3 separate regions of the Homo sapiens genome follow, and regions 1 and 2 are each linked to region 3. The links are contacts of gene promoters, found by promoter capture Hi-C in blood cells and fetal thymus (Javierre and others, 2016). All regions are on one chromosome and are shown on one strand. Each heading gives the region's core, a stretch centred on a gene start or on the middle of the fragment in contact. The rest is flanking DNA. Distances are from core to core; before and after follow the strand shown. Region 1 has its middle 26 kb from the start of LINC02790. Region 2 has its middle 43 kb from the start of LINC02790. Region 3 holds the start of PTBP2 (polypyrimidine tract binding protein 2).

Evidence for each region. Contacts are between HindIII fragments. The CHiCAGO score rates a contact against its expected background, and 5 or more counts as called.
Region 1: a contact is called between a fragment that was not itself captured here and the fragment with the promoter of PTBP2 in region 3, in 1 of 17 cell types (megakaryocytes). The highest score is 7.1, in megakaryocytes.
Region 2: a contact is called between a fragment that was not itself captured here and the fragment with the promoter of PTBP2 in region 3, in 1 of 17 cell types (megakaryocytes). The highest score is 8.1, in megakaryocytes.

What each region holds. Positions count from the first base shown.
Region 1 is chr1:95,964,506-95,968,024 of GRCh38, forward strand. No RefSeq gene overlaps it. Among named protein-coding and RNA genes, the nearest start is that of LINC02790, 26 kb to the right of the region's middle. The HindIII fragment of the contact is 1,119 bases long and covers 1,041-2,159 here.
Region 2 is chr1:95,947,948-95,951,078 of GRCh38, forward strand. No RefSeq gene overlaps it. Among named protein-coding and RNA genes, the nearest start is that of LINC02790, 43 kb to the right of the region's middle. The HindIII fragment of the contact is 1,873 bases long and covers 338-2,210 here.
Region 3 is chr1:96,719,958-96,723,197 of GRCh38, forward strand. It overlaps PTBP2 (polypyrimidine tract binding protein 2), which reads left to right and starts at 1,827. Exons shown (of 14, transcript NM_021190.4): 1 at 1,827-1,915. The coding sequence starts at 1,908. RefSeq lists silencers at 1,593-1,792, 2,023-2,302. The HindIII fragment of the contact is 2,234 bases long and covers 1-1,888 here.

The DNA of each region.
Region 1 (3,519 bases), core at 350-2,849, 760 kb before region 3:
CTGTATTGGAGCTCCATTGTTAAGTTATTTGTTTCTTTTCTCCAGCTGCTTTCAGGATTCTTTCTTTACCCTTGACTTTTACGAGTTGGATTATTACTTGAAATTGTATGCCTTCAAGTCCTTGTTTTTTAATATCTATAGTGGCATTTATAAAAAACTTTATCTAATTATAGGTATTCATAAATCTTATAAAAATGTGACATGACATGATGACAGATTTTTTGCAAGTGTGTAGAGTTTGCAATTTTATGTTTTTAATTATTTTCATGTCCATGTGATCTTCAGAGCAATGCTATAAATTAGGTATGGCAGCTAACAGTACTGTCATTTTTAGAAGAGGTTTTGGACATTCCTTTTTAAAATAAGTTAAAAATTTCTTTCCATATTCTTTTTTGTATTATGAACATGTGAGCTTCTTTAGATTAAGGGCTGTATCTAGATAGTCTTTGATAGCCTTCTTAGTACTAGAGTAGATGTATTAGGGACTTAATACATACTGTTTAATAGATGCCCAGGAAATCTGAGCTTCTCTCCTGGTGCCAGACTCTTTTACCATGATATTAGAAACTCACTACTCACACTTATTACTCTGTGTTTTCCTCACTGGGATTCCTAGAAATTGGCAGCAAATACACAAGGAAAAAAATAGTGTGTCTTTTGCCACCTGAGAAAGGGCAGATGGGTTAGCTTTTAGGGGAAGATTTCTCACATCAGAGAGTATTTCATTGTAATGAAGGGTGGTTTGCTTATCTTAATAGTTGTGTGGATTCAATTGAGCATTTAAAGTCCACTCATAAATTTAACAATTCATTTATTTTTTTTAAGGTCAGTGTACAATGGTAGCCAAACCCCCGAAATTGCTTATTGCAGGTTCTTCCTACAAAAGCTTATATTCAAGTTAGGGAAACAAAATCTGTGCCCATGAAAGGTGTGAATGCAACTTCAATAGAGTGGAGGAAGAAGACATCAGGCTAGGCATGACTTGTGTAAAGGTGGATAACTCACTCAAAATTTGTTAACAAGAAACACATACCTAAGAAAGCTTCAGGTAAGTACAGGCTTTCCCAAGGTTATAGATATCCGTGCATTTTGAGAGCAGAAAAGAGGAATAGGGAGGTGTTGGAGAAGGATATGCAGATTGGAGCAAAAGAATTTAAAAATTGAAAAGTACTTGGATCTTTATGACATTATGCAGAAGAAAGCATGTTTTCTTCTAAGAAGAGAAAATAGACTACAAATAAGAACATTCATCTACTTTGTCCAAATGAAAATTGTCTCTTGCTCCTTGAAAACACTTAATGTGAACCTATGACTTTATAATACAGTCATACATTGCTTAACAATGAGGATACCTTCTGAGAAATGTGTCATTAGGCAATTCTGTCATTGGATCAACATCATAAAGTATACTTACACAAACCTAGATGATATAGCTTAATATGCACCTAGGATATATGGTGTAGTCTATTTCTCCAAGGATACAAACTGGTACAACATATTGCTGCGCTGAACACATAGTCAACTGGGACACATAGTAAGTATTTGTGTATCTAAAAATATCTAAACACAGAAAAGGTACAATGAAATATTGTATTATAGTCTTATGCAGTCCATCATTGACAGAAGTGTCATTATATAGTGCATTACTATATATGACACTACTAATGCCTTTATCATGTATATTGTCTTATGATTTTTTTTATCTTCCCCAATTTAAATCTTTTAATTTAAAAGTAAACTTTACTGTCGAAAATGCAAACTTGGGGAGGGCAGAAAGATCACACACAAGGCTGCCACTTCACACCTGTAGGGTTGCATGGCGGCAGGGCAGAAGCGCTCCTCACTTCCCAGATGGTGCGGGGCCTGAAAGAGGTGCTCCTCTCTTTGATTTTTAAAGAAATGTCTGGTTTCGCAACCAAACAATTCTATTCACAATCCATACTTCTCATATGTATTATCTTACAAAAAAATTTGCATTACTAGGTGGATCTGCTATTTTACTATTTAGTATAATACAGTCTGCTACTTTTTTTTCAAGAGACATAACCTTATTTATTGAACTTCAAAAATACATTTAACCTCTGTAGATAGCTTCAACACATCTAAGTGTGATTAGGTTGAGACAGATGGGATGAGACGGAAAAGACTCATCAGATAAAAGCTTACTTCTCACTCACATTTTGCCTTCATCATTTTTCTTTCCTTAATGAATCCACAGAACCCCTGCTGCATTCAGGAAAACTTTAAAAAACACCATATGTTTCCGATAACCCTACTAACCTTCTTAGTACTTTTAACTTTTTTTCCTTTTAACTGTTGCTGCAACACTTGAAGTACATTAATACACTATCTAGCTGATGGCTTCTGTATCTAAATCACAATTTCAACATCTCAGCTCATTCTCAATGAAGAACTTTATGAAAAAACAAAAAATTAGATTATGAAATTCTTTCATCAGGGCCAAAAAGGAAGCTAATTGTGGAGAATGCTTTTTTTTTCTCCTAATATACATAGTATTGCTGGAACTGATAAGAAGACACAATGTTATATATATGCCAGCTAAATAGGAATGTGGTTTTGAAAATTTGCTATCTTTCCCAGGCTGTCTAAAATGACTTCTGCTATTTCTGTAGGTAGGTCACACATTAGTCCATTTTACTTTCAGATGTGTAAAAAAATTATGCATGAACAAATCCTCTAGTTATAGATAATGTAACATAACAATTGGAAGACAGTGTATTTTAAATTGATAATGAAAATACTTCCTTTTCAAACAAACTCTACAACCATCTTGTTTCACACTGCTGATAGAGGACAATTCTAGACCAGAGAATATTCAACTAAGTGAATATGTCTTTTCTTGGCCTCCAATATTTTTCCAGTAAATATTCAGTCCATCAAGAAGTGTTTTTAAAACAGCTAGTTATCACCCAGCACTGTGCTAGGTAACGGGAAATATATCTAGGGCACTTAAAATCTAGCTGAGAAGACTACTGAATAATTCAAAATGGCATATAACCAAATTAGTGGTGAGTGACACAAACATCATGAATTTTCTAGAGTTTAGCAATTTTATATTACCCTCCCCCATTGGAAGGGGAAGAGAAACTAAAGTTCCATGAGCTGATGACGTTCCCAAAGTCACACCTAATTAGGGGTAGATGTACGCCCAGAATCCGCTATTTGTTTCCTAAACCATTGTAAAATGTTTATCTCTAAAATCCAAAGGAAGGATATGTAGGTAGTGTCTGAGTTAGTTGGAAATACAAATATAAAGGATCAGAGAACTAAAATCAAGTACTTGTATTGATTACTCCAAACTAGAAATGGCACTTTATTTATGAATACTTTCCAAGTTTTTCTGACTACACGATGCAGGGTATTTGAGAATTAATGCATTTATTATATATGCTGTGTTCATAATTGATGTTATAATGCACTTGTAGCTTTTCACCTGAATGTGTATGAAAATGAGGGGGAAAACAAGTCTGTTGTTTTTAAAGTGCCTTCACTTATCAT
Region 2 (3,131 bases), core at 24-2,523, 770 kb before region 3:
AAACATACATTTAGAGTGGCATATGAGGTTGGGCTAATTACTTGTAATGTAAGATAGAGTAGTATTTTAAATGAATGATTTAAAATAGAATTTTTTTACATTGAAACTTGTGGCTATGGCTGTCTAGAAACTAGGAAACTTAGCTGCAATAAGTTATTTATTTATTTTGTTGTTATTTAGTTGAGACCATTCTTCCAGTTTCCCCTTCCTTCCACAACTGACATTTCCATAGTTTATTCATCTATGGTGAGTCTGCTGAGTCAGTATCACCTCCAGCAGTCCTTCCTGTCAGTCATTAACACATCCTTAGAAAAGCTGACTTGGTGGAAGATAAGAAAGCTTCTTTAGATGCTTAAATCTAACTACAGAATGGTGGTGGGAATAGAAATCAATTAAAATATGGGCACCAAATAAACATGGAAGCAATTTATATGAAAAGTGTCATGGAAAGAGAAAATCTGTAGTTCTAAGAGAAGGAGTGTTGAGATTAAGTATGATTTTCTGAAAAGGAGAAAAATAAAAAAAATAAATATGATAATGAAAGGAACAAAAGAAAGGAAACAAGAAAACTTATGGACAATGTTGTAAGGTGGAATGGGGGCTCTTTAAAGATTTGTGGGGATGAAACTAACATTTATGAAGACTTTTTCTCTATGTAGAAATAAAGCCATTGGAATACATTGTTAAGTCAAAATAGCACCAAAAGGCTGTAACCTCTTTGATCAATAGAAAACCAGTTTTTCATAAAACAGGTTTTCTATTGATTGGTGACATCATCCTCATTAATGAATAAGCAGGAGGTCCTCAATGTACATCAGCCTTCACTCAACATTAGTTTTTGTTTCATGGTGTACATTATTGGCCCTTGGGTGGAAATAGAGCCCTGAAATATCTCATTGTCTTTTACTTCAATAAGTCCCAGAGGAAGAGAGTTGTCCAGTAAAGTTCTAGAATCTTGTTAGTGCTTAAGAGTGCACATTAGTAATTATAGTATAAATAAATTGCTTCCAATTTACTCTAGGATAATTTACACTTAGGTGTAATATTAATCCCTATCCTTTGTCCCCAGCTTTCAACCCAGAAGGTGAATAATTTTACAATAATTCACTAGATGGCATGTCTGGATTCAGTGTAAAAACAATCCTTCACATAGTAAGTCTGTGCATCTGTTTGGTTATGCTTCTTGGTACCTGATACCACATAACAGATAGGAAAAAAATAATAGTTGGTATCATGTACATTTGGTAAATACCAATTTTTAGTGATTTTTGCAGAAAAACTATAATAACATATACATGAAAATTACTATTTATTGAAGCATAATGCACAGTAATGTACATGTTTCCATGTAGCATCATTTGTCTACTAGAAGTGTGGAGCAAAAAAAATAAAGAAGTGTATCATGTAGAGCTTGGTGTACATGTTCTCAACTACTGCATGCTTTGTTTTTAAATAGCAATTTATAATATGTCATACATTCCTTTCTAAAGTGGGAGATTCTTCACTACAGGATTATTTTAGATGGAGTGAAAGAGTTGCCAAGGTCTCCTGCTGTAGAACTTCACCTCAAATGCTATTGAACATATTGTGTGAAGTCAGTGCATAGTGTTGGCAGCAAATATTTATTTGAAAATTTACAAATATATTTTATTTACCAAACACATTTATTACTTGTAAATAGTTGGAAGAGAAATGGCTCCTAAGCAGTTTTCTAACATGACTTTAGATCCCAACTATATTGTACAATGCTGCAGTATCTTTATGAAATTTGCATTGACATTGTTATACTTGTTGCTCATGTCATCTTTAATGTTTTCATTTTTAATTTTTGACTAATGCTAGTAAAATAATTCCAAAAGCAAATAGCCCATTTTTTCTGTTGGTCCATTAGTTTTCAAGTGTTTTATTTCAATCTTTTGGTGACAAGAAATTTTTCACCATAAAGTTGATGTAGATTTTCATGAAAATCAGCTTTCTTGCAAATTAAGATGGAATACTCAGGTTGAACTCCGGAGAGCCCAGGATAATGGCAGCAGCAGAGAGAGATTTAATTGTCATCTACTAAAACATAATTTGCAGACTACCTCACACACATGAATCACTTCCAAAGATTGGGGGATAGTCCTAGGAATATGTTACATAATTATAAATTGTAAAATTTGCAAAATTATTTATTCTTTTTTATAAGGGAATAAATTGTATAAACTCCAAGCTTTGCAAGTACTATATCTATTTATAGAGAATTCAGATCTTCTTCTCCCTTTGCCAGGGAAGATTGCTTGCTTATGTAGGTTTCTAAGAGAAATGAAAATCAACTGATATCATGGCTTAATAAACTTTCAAAAATGAGTAGATTGTTTCCAGGAGAGTTTTCAAGCTGCTGGGTCTTCTGTTTTTAACCTTAAGTTCCAGTTATTATTTTCTGTTTTCAAACAATTCTTTTTGACTTAATGAAATAATTGATATTGTTTATGTCTTGGTGATAGCCACATGCTTGAGTAGAATCAGCTTAGAAATATTGCTAATGATGAAATTGTAAATGTTAGTGTGTCAAGATATCTGTAAATGTCATTAATGTGTGTAAATAATTTAGGAAATTTATGTACCTATAATGGGGATTAATAAGAAAATTTATGTACTGCTAGAAATATATAATCAAAGAAGTGGAAAGCTATTAAAACAGATATTGAATGAAATCCAAGTATTTTCCCATGACTGGGCAGTTCCTCCATCCTCTGGGCTTTGGCTGCTTCTTCAATTTCATTTTTGGTTACCACCTTCCTTACCTGCATTAGTGATATTGAACTATTTATAGTTACCCGAAAACGCCAAGGCATTTTATATTTTTGTTACTTTACCATGGTGTTTTTCTTTGCCTCAGATCTTCTTTGCTTTCTTATTTGCCTGGTAATCTTCCATCTATTGTTGAAGATCCTGCTTTCTGAAACTTTCTCTGATTTCTTCAGCCTTCAGGACAGAGATAATAACACTCTCTGTTCCTTCTGTCCTTCATATATACTTCCAACATTACCAATATTGAAATTATTTATTTATGAATATGTTCTCTACCTGTAGACTGAAAACTCCTTGAGGACAGAACCAGTATATTATTCATAAAGTTCACCTGGAAC
Region 3 (3,240 bases), core at 577-3,076:
CAACCTCGGCCTCCCAGGTTTAAGCGATTCTCCTGCCTCAGCCTCCCGAGTAGCTGGGATTACAGACATGCACCACCACCCCGGCTAATTTTGTATTTTTAGAAGAGACGGGGTTTCTCCATGTTGGTCAGGCTGGTCTTGAACTCCCGACCTCAGGTGATCTGCTTGCCTCGGCCTCCCAAAATGCTGGGATTACAGGCGTGAGCCACCGTGCCCGGCCTTTTTTTTTTTTTTTTTTAACGATTGACAATCCCATAGGCAAATCAAGAATTTGTAAAAATTTGGGTGCTTTGAAGAGTTCTATAGCAAAGTGTTTGGACAAGATGCTCTTTAAGGGTCTATCCAATTTAAAAGTAATATTATTTATGGCCGGGCACGGTGGCTCACGCCTGTAATCCCAACACTTTGGGAGGCTGAGGAGGGCAGATCACCTGAGGTCAGGAGTTCGAGACCAACCTGACCAACATGGAGAAACCCTGTCTCTACTAAAAATACAAAGTTAGCTGGGCGTGGTGGCGCGTGCCTGTAATCCCAGCTACTCGGGAGGCTGAGGCAGGAGAATCGCTTGAACCAGGGAGGCCGAGGTTGCAGTGAGCCGAGATTGCGCCATTGCACTTCAGCCTGGGCAACAAGAGCGAGACTGGGTCTCAAAAAAAAAAATTCTAAAAATTATACACAATATCATTTAGTATATGAAATTCCAATTAGCAAAGGATAAGAGCTTTGCCTGAAGGAGACACAGAAAAACCCAGAGTGAGTATTGAGAGTAACTGGAGGGACACAGGGAGTATTTGTCATTTTTCAGAATTAGAAGTGCATTTGTCCTTGTGTGTGTTGGGGGTGGAGGTGAAGGGTGCAGGAGAAGGATGGGTACTGGCAAAGTCGCTACTCACTGAGCAAATTTTCAAGCGGGTGCCTTTCCCAATTTTGTTGAGCCTCTGATAAAAACACGTTGAAGTAAAATGTCCACTATAGTATCAAGTAAAAATTGAGACCGTAAGATATAGCAAAGGGAGTCAATTTGCATAGCCCATTTTAATGCTTCTACTTTCTCTAACCAATCTGAAGACTCAGTTGTTCCCACTCCCATCTCCACTTTCCCTTTCATGCCTCCAAATGTTAAACTCCAACTATTGTAGCATTTTAACACATGGCTCCATTTGTGTCTATTTCCACCTAGCGTATTGTGAATATTTTCTACAGGCGCACACTAATCACCAACTGAAGTGAGAATCACATTTTCCTCCACTTGGCTTGGTACTACAGGTCTTGAAGCAAAAGCCTGTATTTCAGTCTGAGGAGTTCTACTTGCTTGAGAAAGTACTGTTGTTACCAAGTGGTCTCGTTCAGTGGGGTAAAGATTTTTGTTTTAGAGGCTGGAGCCGGTCTGCAAATAAAAGATGGCTTAGGAGAAAAGCTATCCAATGTTTTTTCCTTGGCCCGCATAGGTTGACGGTAGCCAAGCTGGTACTTGGCTTGGAGTGAAAAGTGGAGGCTGCCTGGGGGCGTCCTGCAGTCAGGGCAGAGAGAGTGTGGAGAGCTGTTGGGAGGTGTCCCACCCACGCCCCCACAAGGAGGGGAAACCAGGTCGCCGCGGTCTGCAGCAGAACGCCAGGTTCCAGAGGACGGCAGGCGGAGGGCGGAGGGAGAAAGGCGCGCGAAGGCGCGGAGGAGGCGTCGGCTGCGGCGCCCACTCCCCCTAGTCCCAGCGCCCTGCCGCTCGCCTCCCGCTGCCGGGCGCCGGCGCGCTCGGCTCTTTCCGCCGCCGCCGCTGCCGCGCGGTGGCCCGTGCGCCTCGGCACCTTCGGCAATTTCCGTCGGGCCCCAGCCGCCATTTTCTCGCCGCTTGTGTGGCTCGCTGGCTGCGTGGCTCGGTTCTTGTGAGCGAAGCTTTGTCCGGTTCGGCAATGGACGGGTATGTAATCGGGCCGGCGAGAAGGTGTGTGTGAGAGAGGAGTTGGACCGTCCTTCGGCCCGGTCCCGGGCCGGGGAGAAACCCTCCCGCGGCCCCTCCCAGGGCTGGGCTGCCGTTACCCAACCCCCGCCCCATCGCACACACCCCTCCCTTTGCTTCCCCCGGCGGGCTTTGGTCGAGAAAATGAGAAGAAAGCGGGCTTGGAGGCTGGGGAGGCATAGGGGCGATGGCGGGGGTGAGGATCCCGGAGTGGGAGCGGGCACCGGCTTGGCGGCGGGGGATGGGGTGGGAACCCCATAACGTCTCCCCGGTCTGTCCCTGCCCCCTCTAGGAGCCATTTCGATCCGTACCTTGGGACCCGACCCTTGGGTTAGCGGTGCCTGTGAGAGCGAGTGGGATGGGCAGAGACAGGCCTTTGGATTGGGGGAGCCTCTAGGGGAAGAGGAGAGAGGCACCCCATGTGGACCCCAGCCATGAGCAACCTCTCCGGCCTCGCCCGGCCCTCCGTGGTCGGGAGAGATGCCGGTGGCGGGAGCTCCGGGGAAAGCCTAGTGGGAGCCGCTGGGGAAGGGGGGAGGGCGTGCGGCGGCGGGAGGAAGGGGGAGGGCAGATGTCATACTCCTTTGTTTTCATTTGAGTCTGGTAGTGGGGGCGGGAGGGAGGAAAAAATGCCTTTTTGTGGGGACTGAAAACATTCAAGGCTTGGCAAAAGGGCCCAGAAATTAAATCATCTAAAAAACGAAGTGTTTGAAGCCGACATCAGTCACATGGGCAAAGGCCAACAGCAATGGCAGAAACAAGAGCAGATAGTCAACAAAGGGCTATCTCTTTAGCTACTTTGGTCAGTTTCTGGAAAAACGACTATAAAAACCCAGAACCATGCTGCATCTTTGCGAACCTGAGTCAAGACGGAATGCTGAGTGAGGTGAGAGGCAAGACTGTGAAATGGTAGGGACCGATGTCTCGCTCATATGCTTCACACCTGAAAAGACTCAGTAATTTAACTCAATGTTAGAAAGGGGGCACGCTTAAGGTCAAAAATACAGCAGTATGCAGCTCTTTTGGGAGTGTAAACATAGTATCATTTAACAAGTACATTTATTAAAATCAGTGAGTATTTGAAGAATCAACAATTTGGTTAAGCGCCTAGAGTTTGGTGTGTTTTAAAAGGTACTAAAAACAAGATTTTATAAAAGTTAACACAGTCTCACAGAATTCAAATCATCCTAGATGTTACCTAAAGATTATTTTCCAGATGAAACAAATCCAGAGAAGTTCAGTATTCCCCCCAGATCAACACGGAAATTGATGTCAAAACTTGCACT